Regions from separate parts of the Homo sapiens genome. Here region 2 is linked to region 1. The links are contacts of gene promoters, found by promoter capture Hi-C in blood cells and fetal thymus (Javierre and others, 2016). All regions are on one chromosome and are shown on one strand. Each heading gives the region's core, a stretch centred on a gene start or on the middle of the fragment in contact. The rest is flanking DNA. Distances are from core to core; before and after follow the strand shown.

Region 1 (5,571 bases), core at 2,077-4,576:
TGTACGTTATATATTATATATAAATTATATGTAATATATAATGTATATATTGTATGTTATATATTATATATAAAATATATACATTATATTGTATACATTATATTATATTATATTATATATACATTATATATTATATATATAATGTATATATAATATATAATGTATATATTATATAGATACACCACTAACTCTGGCTTTAGTTTTAAAAACTAACATTTTAGAAAGCCTGAATTAAACAAATTCTCTCTTTCATTTTTAATTTCCATTTTTATTTTCCACTTCTATTGCTTCTGTGCTGCAGCAAAACTCAAAAATATTCTGGAAACTCCCAAGTATACAATGATGGTTAGGAGGAATTCAGATTAGCTATTTTTAGAAGGCAATTAAGTTGTTTTTAAAAACTCAGTTTTCATTGATGAAAACAGGACTCCAATTTGCTATTGGTTCATTTACCATCGATATTCTCTATAAAGATTTTTTTTTCACCAGCCATGTCCCAGGCTCAGATCCTAATAATGTCAGCACTGGATCTTGTGTGTGTGTGTGTGTGTGTGTGTGTGTGTGTGTGTGTGTGTGGTGTGTGCACCTACCCATGTTCAAACAACTAGACTCCTTATTATATAGCACTCATACATGATGCAATCATCTTAAGATCACAAAATCAGTAAGTTTCTAAGTCATAATTACTTGTATAACAATATGCAGTTATAAAACACTTTCATATAGATGATCTCATTTGATTCTTACACAAATCCCCTGAAGTTGAGGAAGACAATTTTTTTTTCTCATTTTCTAAACAAGGAAACCAAGGCTCAAAGAGGCTGAACAACTTGCTCACAGTCTCGCCAAGTCCTAAGGGACAGCACTGACATTCACGCTTCTGTCCCCAGGCCCATCACAAAACATAAATCTGTGATTCCTCTAAAACTCTTCTTTATATTTAATCATTAATTCAGAAGTTAGTGAGTACTAAGCATTCATAGTATGTATTGCCATTAAAGGCAAGAGCTTAAAAATAAAATCTAGGCTGGGCACTGTGGCTTATACCTGTAACCCCAGCACCTTGGGAGGCCAAGGCAGGAGGATCACTTGAGCCTAGGAATTCAAGACCAGCCTGAGCAACAGCAAGATCCTGTTTCTACCAAAAAAAAAAAATTAAAATTAAATATATAGTTTATCTCTGTCCAACGTATCTGTCTGTTCACTAAGAAACATGAGTTTAGGAATCATCATAGATGATTGTTTTTAAAAACTCAATTATCATTGATGAAAACAGGACTTCAATTTGCTATTGGTTCATTTACCATCGATATTCTCTATAAAGATTTTTTTTTTCAGCAGCCATGTCCCAGGCTCAGATCCTAATAATGTCAGCACTGGATCTTGTGTGTGTGTTACCTTAACACACACACAAGATGTGTTATCTTAAGCCAGTGTGTTATCTTAAGCCAGTACGAGGCAATACACACAGAAAAAAATAATTTTGAGAATAGATCTGTTTGACAACACCTGACGTCTTTCCAGTGGGGGTTGCGGGGACGTAGGGAATAGCAGTGCAAGGTCTTTAAGATAGTGTCTAAAAATCTAAGCTGGGCTGGGCATGCTGGCTCATGCCTGTAATCTCAACATTTTGTTAAGCCAAGGCAGGTGGATCACAAGGTCAGGAGTTCGAGACCAGCCTGGCCAACATGGTGAAACCCCATCTCTACTAAAAATACAAAAATTAGCCAGGCATGGCAACACATGCCTGTAATCCCAGCTACTCAGGAGGCTGAGGCAGGAGAATTGCCTGAACCCGGAAGGTGGAGGTTGCAGTGAGCTGAGATCGAGCCATTGCACTCTAGCCTGGGCCACAGAGCAAGACTCATCTCAAAAAAAAAAAAAAAAAAGTCTAAGCTGAAGGCATATAACTGGTTCAGCTGTAGCTACTGGGCAAATAGTTCATTAAAAATGAACACATAATGTAAACCCCTTTAACTTCTAAACACTTGTGATTTTTTTTAGTGAACATTTTTCTGAGGGGAACTGTATAACCACAGGCTGATAACATCATTCAGTTTACAGAAACATCACCAATTCACAAGAATTCAGCCTCTAGGCTTGTTTAATTTACTTTATGAAAGCTTAAATTGCAGCATAATATATGTGCGTTTGGCCTATTTCAACTATTACTCTTTGTTTTATTGGAAAACATGTTTTACTCTTGCTTACTGATTTGTTCTTGCGTTGGGATCATCTCTCCTCCAGGAGAAAGCATTTCCAATTTTATTATGAAAGATTAACAGGAAAATAGAACTTCCTTCACAGACATTGATGTTCTAGGAATAACTTTACAAAAATATTTCTCTTCTCTGAAAACTAATATTTAAATAGGTGTAATCTGAAACTACCAGAAAAATTCAACAAACACCTCCAGCAAATAAATAGCTGAGTGTCTGTGATGTCCCTTTCCTGGGGAAGGGCAGTATAAAGATGAAAATCTTGTCTAGCTGGAAGGCCGTCACTAACAGGGCTGGGGCGCATAACCCTGTGGAGACATTTGTGCCCGGCCTTAAAGGGTGCGTAGGAGTTTGCCAAGTGGACGTGGAAGGAGGCATTTTAATAAGAGGAAAATAACATGATTGGAAGCGTGGAGGTGAGAAAGCATAGAAGCACTCAGAGTGAGGAGAGCTGGGGCTTGGGCCAGCCCACGTCAGCCCCTGCCTGCGGACCCAGCCTCTTGGAGCCAGGCTCACTCACCCTGCCTTTAAGACGGCCCTACCAGAGGCAGGAGAAGGATCCGCAGCCTCAGCTTTCTGTGGCGCAACCTGGCACTGAGTCACTCATACCAATCTCAGCGCCAGTGGCCAAGCCGCTGCTGCCGGAGGGCCTGTGTCACCCTCCCCCCGTTTCCCTGCCCTCTTCCCATCCTACCACCACCCAAGCTCCCTGGCTTCCTAACAGTGTGGCAGGGATCCTCCCAGGCCCCCATCCTCCTCCAGCCTGAGTTCTTCCTCCCTGCTGTCTTCCCAGTCTTCCCCACTAAGATCCCACCACCCTTCAGACCCGGGCTCACACCAGCTCCTGCTGGCCCCATGTGCCTCGCACCGAATACAGGAGGTCGCACACTGCATCCCCAGACACCAAGTACTGCCCTGCTTGACCACCTATGTTCCCCTGGGCCCACCAGCATGGACTCTCCTTCTGTTACCAGTCACTGCCTGATCCAGGCATGAGCTGCCTGTGTCCCCCGACATCATCCTCCTGGCACCATCCTCTGCTCTTCCTGGCCTTCTTCACTGGGAGCCTTCGGGATCATCCCTCCAGATCAAGTTCTTCCAGCCCCACCTCCCTCCCACCCTGTGCACCCAGGGAAATTCATCTCTTCTGGGTCCCAACCTTGGCCTCGGGAGAGCCCCAGATGCCCCCCTCTGTGTCTACCCCAGTTACTCAGTGTGGTCAGACTTGGGGGTTGTACAGTTTTCTGTCTCATGATTCATTTCCCCAGGCAAAAAGCTGGCTAATAATATCTGGGTGTGCGGGGGAGGTACCAGTGTGTTTCTGTGTTTGGAGGTGAATTTTTTTCTACTTTAGAATTTAATCACTTCTACTTTGAGCAGTTTTTAGCTGAGCTGACAGTAATATGCTCTGCATTGAGTATTTGTAGGGGGTGGAATTAGTCACCACAAATTTCAATTTTTGGACTTTCCTGATAACGCCACAAAGCTGAAAGGCTTCTAAAGCTTGAGCAAAGATTGGAAACTTGACCCCAGGGGTTGATGGTTGATCTTTATAAAAACGACCTTGTGGTCAGTTTGTTCTTTTATGCTTAAATTGTCAAGGTCCCTGTCCACCCCAGGAATTAATGTGGTGATGTGGAAAGAGCACTAGACAAAGGATTTCAAAACTGTCTTTGGGCCCTTGGCTCGTGGCCTTAGCTCTCTGACATTCTTTGCTTATAAAATGTACCCCCTGCCGGGGCGAAGTACAATCCTTACCCATTTTGCATGACTCAACATTTTATAATGGAAGCTTCTATTTTTGTCTGGCTAAATCTTTTTCAAATAAAAATATTTCTTGGTCTGTATATTTTTCATGTCTCAGACATTTTTATCAATACATAATGTCCTAGCTTTTCACATCTTGCAAATGGCACAGAATTGTGAAAGAATACAGCAAAAAGCTAGAAATATACCTGTGTATATAACATTGCTGGGGATTTTTATGTGTGGTTTCTTGTGGGTTCTAGTAAGCACGTTCATTTCATTACCTACAAACGCATAGAAAAATCCAACATAATCCCACACTGATGAGAAGAAGAGAGGGTTGTTTGTCAGGTGGGGTAGTTTCACTTGACTTGAAGGTCTCACCCCGCCCCTCGTCTTTACCATAGCATACGCTTCTAGATGCTTCTGCTGCATTGTCAACCAGACTCTACCAGAACTGTTTTTCAAAACATGTGTTCCTAGGATTTTACCTCCCTGCATTTTTTGCTATATCTATTAAGTAATGCATGTATATAATTAAAAATCAAATAGTCCTATAAGATGTATAATGAAAACCAGCAGTTTCCTATTCCAACCCTCCCAAAGATGAAGTCTGATGTTGCAGAGCCAATCACTTTCAGCGCAGCTAGATGTTTCTTCGGATAATCACCGCGCTATCTGTAACTAGTATGCACAGGCTGCTGTTTCTTGATTTACTGGGGTCATGATCTCATTCTCTTATTCCATTACCTTTACTTCTACTTCCTTGCTCCTCTCCATCTTCCTAAGATGGTCATACCCACATTTGAGATGCATGGTCCTGCTGACGTTGCTGTGACTATATACATTTTGTTGGCTGCTGATCAGAGTAGTACATCATGATTTTGTTTCATTTCTTGCACAACTTAATTGTTTTTCCTGGAATTATTTATTGCCTTCATTTATTTGCCTAGATTTATTTGTACCTATCAAAAATTTCGTATGTGCCAAAATTTTCGTATGTGCCATTAGATCTGCCGCATTCAGTATTACTTTTGGTATTATTTAAATATTAATTACCAGATAAGTATGTCAGTTCCATCCCAACCTGCCCTCCCTTCCCGCAGAGGCCCTCTCCTCTTTCCACCCAGAGCTCTTTAAGCTCCATCGCAGCCTGCCCTCCCTTCCCCCAGAGGCCCTCTCCTCTTTCCACCCAGAGCTCTTTAAGCTCTATCCCAGCCTGCCCTCCCTTCCCCCAGAGGCCCTCTCCTCTTTCCACCAAGAAAGCTCCTGCTCCTAGTATATCTGGGTTCATTACTCTAAACACAGCTTTACTGCAGCTTCCCTTTACTATGTTTCTCAGTTGGGTCCAGTTTTCTTAATCTCGGGGATGCTATTTCTTGATTTAATAACTCATTTTACTTCAAGATGTTCCTAAGTTGCCTCCTCATGAAAGGTGCATGGGAGGGAAATTTTTTTTGAGTCATTGAAGGTCTGAAAAGCTCAGTATTCTACTCTAACTTGATGGCTAGTTTGGTTCTCATATTCATGCTCATTCTCTCTCTCTCTCTCTCTCTCTCTCTCTCTCTCTCTCTCTCTCTCTCTCTCTCTCTCTCTCCTTGGATTG
Region 2 (5,563 bases), core at 2,062-4,561, 97 kb after region 1:
TTTTGAGCCATTACATAATATGTAATGTTAAATGTTACTTCTGAAATAAGGAATATTATATAAGTAATCAATACTGTATGGTATTGGCAGAGGAATGGACACATTGATCAATGAAACAGAATAGAGAACCTAAAACTGGACTCACACAAGCCAGACACAATAGCTAGTGCCTATAGTCCCAGCTCCTCAGGAGGCTGAGACAGGAGGATCGCTTGAGGCCAGGAGTTTGAGGGTGGGGTGCACTACGATTGCACCTGTGAATAGCCATTGTACTTCAACCTTGGCAACGTTGTGAAACCCCATCTCCAGAAAAAAAAAAAAGGAAGAACTCAACTCAGACAAATATGCCCAATCGACTTTTGACAATGATGAACATGCAGTCCAGCAGAGTAAAGAGTCATTTTCAATAAATGGTGTTAGAGCAATTGGACATCCACAGGCAAAAAAAATGAACCTAGACCTCTGTCTCACGCCTTCTCCAAAAATTAATTCAAAATGGGCCACAGGCTTAAATGTAAAACTATAAGATGTTTAGGGGGAAATATAATCAAATTTTCATGATTTAGAGCTAGGCAAAGACTTCTTAAGCTTGATACCATAATCATGATCCATAAAAGAAAAATTGATAAATTTGCCTTCATCAAAATTAAAAGTTTTTGTTTTGCAAAAAACACTGTTAAGAGGTTAAAGAGACAAACCACAGATTGGGAGTAAATATTTGCAAACCACATATCCAACAAAGGATTAGTATCTAGAATATATAAAGAACTCTCAAAACTTATCAGTAAAAAAACTCAACAGTCCTGGTTGAAAAATGGGGAAAAGACATAAGGGGCATTTCACAGAAGAGTGTATTCAGATGACAATGAAGTTAAACAAAAAGATATTCAACATCTTTAGCTATCAGGGAAATGTAAATTAAAAGCACAATGAGATATTACTACAATCTATCAGGATAACCAGGATGCAGAGAAACTGCATCATTCATGCATTGCTGGTGGGAATGTAAAATGGTATAGCCACTTTGTAAAACAGTTGGCAGTTTCTTAAAAAAATAAACTTGCAACTACCATATGACTCAGCAATTACATTCCTGGGCATTTATCCCAGAGAAATAAAACTTACATTCATACCAATACCTGAGCACAAATTTTTATATCTGATTTCTTACTAATAGTCAAAAACTAAAAACAACCTAGATGTCTTTCTTTTTTGTGGGGGAAGGAGTCTTGCTCTGTTGCCCAGACTGGAGTGCACTGGTGCTATCTCGACTCACTGCAAGCTCTGCCTCCTGAGTTCAAGCCATTCTTCTGCCTCAACCTCCCAAGTAGCTGGGACTACAGGCACCCACCACCACACCCGGCTAATTTTCGTATTTTTAGTAGAGACGGGGTTTCACTGTGTTAACCAGGATGGTCTCTAACTCCTGACCTCGTGATCCGCCCTCCTCAGCCTCCCAAAGTGCTGGGATTACAGATGTGAGCCACCACACCCAGCCAACCTAGATGTCTTTCAATGAGTGAATGGTTAAACAAACTTTGGTACATTCTTACCAAGGAATACTCCTCAGTAATAAAAAGAATTTAGCTATTGATACACATAGTCTCTAGAGAATTATGCTCAGTAAAAAAGCTAATCCCACATTTAATTCCATACATAACATTATTTAAATGACAAAATTATAGAAATGGGGAACAGATTAGTGGGTGGCAGTGGTTAAGAAGAGAGGGAAATAGATGTGGCTATAAAAGACCAACACGAGGGGTCCTGGCAATGATGGAATTGTTCTGTACGTTGACTATATCAATATCAATATCCTGGTTGTGATACTGTACTACTGTTTTATAGAATGTTAATATTGGGGTAAACTGGGTAAAGGGTACAGGAGATCTCTCTTTATTTTTTTATAACTGCATGTGAATCTATGGTTATTTAAAAATAAAAGGTTTAATTAAAAACACACACATGAAAGAGAAAAAGGTCATATAAACAGTAGAAGGAGAAAATTCTCAAATGAGACTCTGGTTCAGCACACTATTCGTGATCCAGGTGCATTTTATAAGCACAGTCTTTCTTAGCATTTTGTTTGTAATAATCCAATGGGGAAGAGAAAGGAGTAAAACAAGGTCAGCAGAGTGAATTTGTTTTGCCAACGCAAACTTGCTGCTCACCAGCAATTGAGCCTTGAGTGAGAAAGGGAGCACAGCTCTTGGTGGTGTTCAAGCCCCACCCACAGGAGGTCCTCCAGCTGTGTGTTGGCTTCTTCTTGTAAACAGGCAATGGGGGAAGAGCTGATAAGGGTCCCGCTTTGCTGAACCCTGTGTTCCTGATTCCCAGAAAGGCAGGAAGTGTGGTGAAGTGTGGCACAAACACATATCAAGACCAGAAAGGACTCTCCTCATCTTTTGACAGTTTTGTGGTGTCGTCAACAGACAGCTGAGATGCAGATGAGCATGGAGAGTAGCTCCATTTCTTCCTGCCCAGAGCACTGGGGAGGGAGGGCAACCCACCAGTGGTGGGGCATCAGGAGCCCGGGAAGGACACAAAGAGTGACTGAGCAGCCACGGTACACAGACCCTACTTCTGGGATGTGGGCCCCAGCATCTAAGGAAATGCTCCCTCCTCACCCTGTGATAAGGCCACTGGCATGACCCAGCTCTGCCTCTGTATTAGTCAGGGTTCTCTAGAGGGACAGAACCTATAGGACAGATAGATAGATGATAGATAGATGATAGATAGATAGATAGATAGATAGATAGATAGATAGATAGATAGATAATAGACACATACATACATAGATACATAGGTAGATACACAGATAGATATAAAGGGGAGTTTACTAAGTATTAACTTACATGATCACAAGGTCCCACAATAGGCTGTCTGCAAGCTGACAGGGAGAGCCAGTCAGAGTCCCAGAACTGAAGAACTTGGAGTTCGATGTTCGAGGGCAAGGAGCATCCAGCACAGGAGAAAGATGTAGGCTGGGAGGCTAGGCCCGTCTCTCCTTTTCACGTTTTTCTTCCTGCTTTATATTCGCTGGCAGCTGATTAGATTGAGCCCACAAGATTAAGGGTTGATCTGCCTTCCCCAGCTCACTGACTCAAACGTTAATCTCTTAGCAACACTCTCACAGACATGCCCAGGACCAATACTTTGTATCCTTCAATCCAATCAAGTTGACACTCAGTATTAACCATCACAACCCCTTTCCTATCCTTGACCATACCAGAAAAAAGGAGGTAGAGCAATGGTCGAAAAAAACATGACAGGAGATTGTCTTATCAGCACCTAACATCTGACCTCTGACCTCTGGCTTCAGTGCAGGGGAACTGAGAAGAGGAAGAGGTAAGGAACGCCACTGTAGCTCTTACATTTTTCATCAGCGTACTACCCCAGACATCAGAGGAGGTGAAGTACATGCCCCAGGACACCAAGGTGCAGCTTGAAGCAATTCACTGCATACTAAAAATTCTTTGATTTTGCATGTTTGCGTAAGACTACATGCTACATCTGTTTTATCACTGTAAAAAAAAAAATGATGTGTCGAACTACTCATCATTGAGCAACAGGAATTTTCAGAGCGGTGGCCGTATTTGACTCATGGCTTTGGGCACAGATGTCATGTCATGCTTGGCTGAGAGTCTGGGCTCTGGAACTAAACTGCCTGGATTCAAGTTATGTCTCTACCTCTTGCTATAACAGATACTTTGGGCAAGTTCCTAATCTTTCTGTGCCTCAGTTTCTTTATCTATATCATGGGGATAGCAGCAGTGCCTACTTCAGAGCATTGTTGAAAGAATTAGGAGTTAATATGCATCAAATACTTGGCATGTGTGTTCACTAAATGTTCATTTTTATTATTATGAGTTACTTTCTGGAACTCTACACCAGTCCCTAGATCCTACTTGAAAAGCAGTGAATGACACAGCAAAGATAAACTTGCCAGGGAAAAACCTGAACATTGATTCCTATTTCAGAAGTGTTTTTGCTGCATTTGCAAGAACCTTTCGGCATAGACTTGTATTCTAACCACATTCAAGTCAGAGTCCTGAGTTCAATACAAATGAAACATGTCTCCCCTTTTTTTTTCACCAAGCTGGCTAAGGAGTCTTGCTCCATGAAATGAATTGCTGAATAGTATAAAGAAGAGTGCACAGGGAATTGGCCCTGCAGTTTTATGTATTGACACTCTCCATACTCCCCCTTTTTTCCAAGTGGATAAACACTATGTTTCCACGATGGTGACAGTATCCATGTCCTCCGTGGCAGCTACTTTGTCGGCTCCATTAGGGAAGTCTGAAAGGTTGTGGAGAACGTCAACAGAGTTCAAATGCAGGCCTCCTGTGGCAGGCTCTTAGTTGGAATGTGGTACAACGAGAACCTTCTGAAGCTCGCCCAAGTTAAACACAGGATTTGTCACACACACGGCAAGGACATAAAACTGGTATATGGTGGTGCCTCTGGTTTTCTGAAGTGCAAGACCCTAGCCCAGCAGTTAGAGTTGGGGCCCCAGAGCTCTGCAATGGGGGTGGCTGCTTTAGTGAGTTTCCTTTTAATTGAATAGGCTTAGAAGCCAGAATCCTTTGTTGTATGCAAGAAACAGTCACCAGCTGTTTTCTGTTTCCACTAAGGGCAGGACAAGAGGAAATAAAATGGATCAAACAACACGGACAGGATTTAGCTTAGATACAAGAGAAAACATCCTGATAGTGAGGATCATTGAACAGTCAAGGAGAGTTATGTGATGAAGTAGACAATCTCCTTCCCGAATATTTTTTTTAATAAAACCCCAATATGGCTGAGGAGAAGGCTCTCTGAATCAGTGACTAGCAGCCAACAGTACTGATTTACTAACTCCTGATTTTCTGAAATATTGGTGGAGAATGAAAGGCCCTCCAAGCTAAAAAATGTACCACATTCTACCATAATCTTGGTTAATGGGCTTCTCTTTTAAAAGGTATTAAATACTGCCAAGTGATCCCATATATCAGCCATTTCTACCAGTAAATATCACCAGAATCAGATGACCTCCTAAAGCCCAATCATGATGCTTCTCCCAGGGAATGAGGTTTATTGAGCTCATGAGAAAAGGCCTGGATCCATCCTGGACCACACACTGAAGGTGGCCCTGGGTACCACAAGGAAGGGCAGCTGGGAAGTTGGAGAGGATGAAAGGGAAGCAGGAAGACCCTGCACCCCTCATCATCTTCATTATGGTTTTATCAAAGTCCCCATTGACCTGCTGGGCTGGAGAGGAATGCTGAAAATCCTCTCCAGCCCAGTTCTGGCTCCATCCTATGAGTTTCTAATGTGGGAATTAGAAGACTGTCAAGATTCCTTCTGGACTTATGCTCTGATCCTGCAATGCCTCTATTTCCCCAAAAGCCACACATTCTATCTACAAAAGAAGCTCAGAGAATCCCAAAAGGGAGGAACCCTGACATGAACCAGGGCATGGTGAAATCATTAGGGATGCCATTGGGCCACCATAGGAGAAGAGCTTATACTAGGAAAAGCAAGAGCTTATATATACTTTAATGAAAATAGTTGACATTTATAA

The links. Contacts are between HindIII fragments. The CHiCAGO score rates a contact against its expected background, and 5 or more counts as called.
Region 2: a contact is called between a fragment that was not itself captured here and the fragment with the promoter of UST-AS2 in region 1, in 1 of 17 cell types (megakaryocytes). The highest score is 5.2, in megakaryocytes.

What each region holds. Positions count from the first base shown.
Region 1 is chr6:149,029,335-149,034,905 of GRCh38, forward strand. UST-AS2 (UST antisense RNA 2) reads right to left here and starts at 3,327. Exons shown (of 2, transcript NR_134599.1): 1 at 3,191-3,327. All of the region lies in intron 7 of UST (uronyl 2-sulfotransferase), which reads left to right. RefSeq lists an enhancer at 3,731-3,920. The HindIII fragment of the contact is 1,599 bases long and covers 2,122-3,720 here.
Region 2 is chr6:149,126,341-149,131,903 of GRCh38, forward strand. No RefSeq gene overlaps it. Among named protein-coding and RNA genes, the nearest start is that of UST-AS2, 96 kb to the left of the region's middle. RefSeq lists a silencer at 3,280-3,339. The HindIII fragment of the contact is 5,450 bases long and covers 587-5,563 here.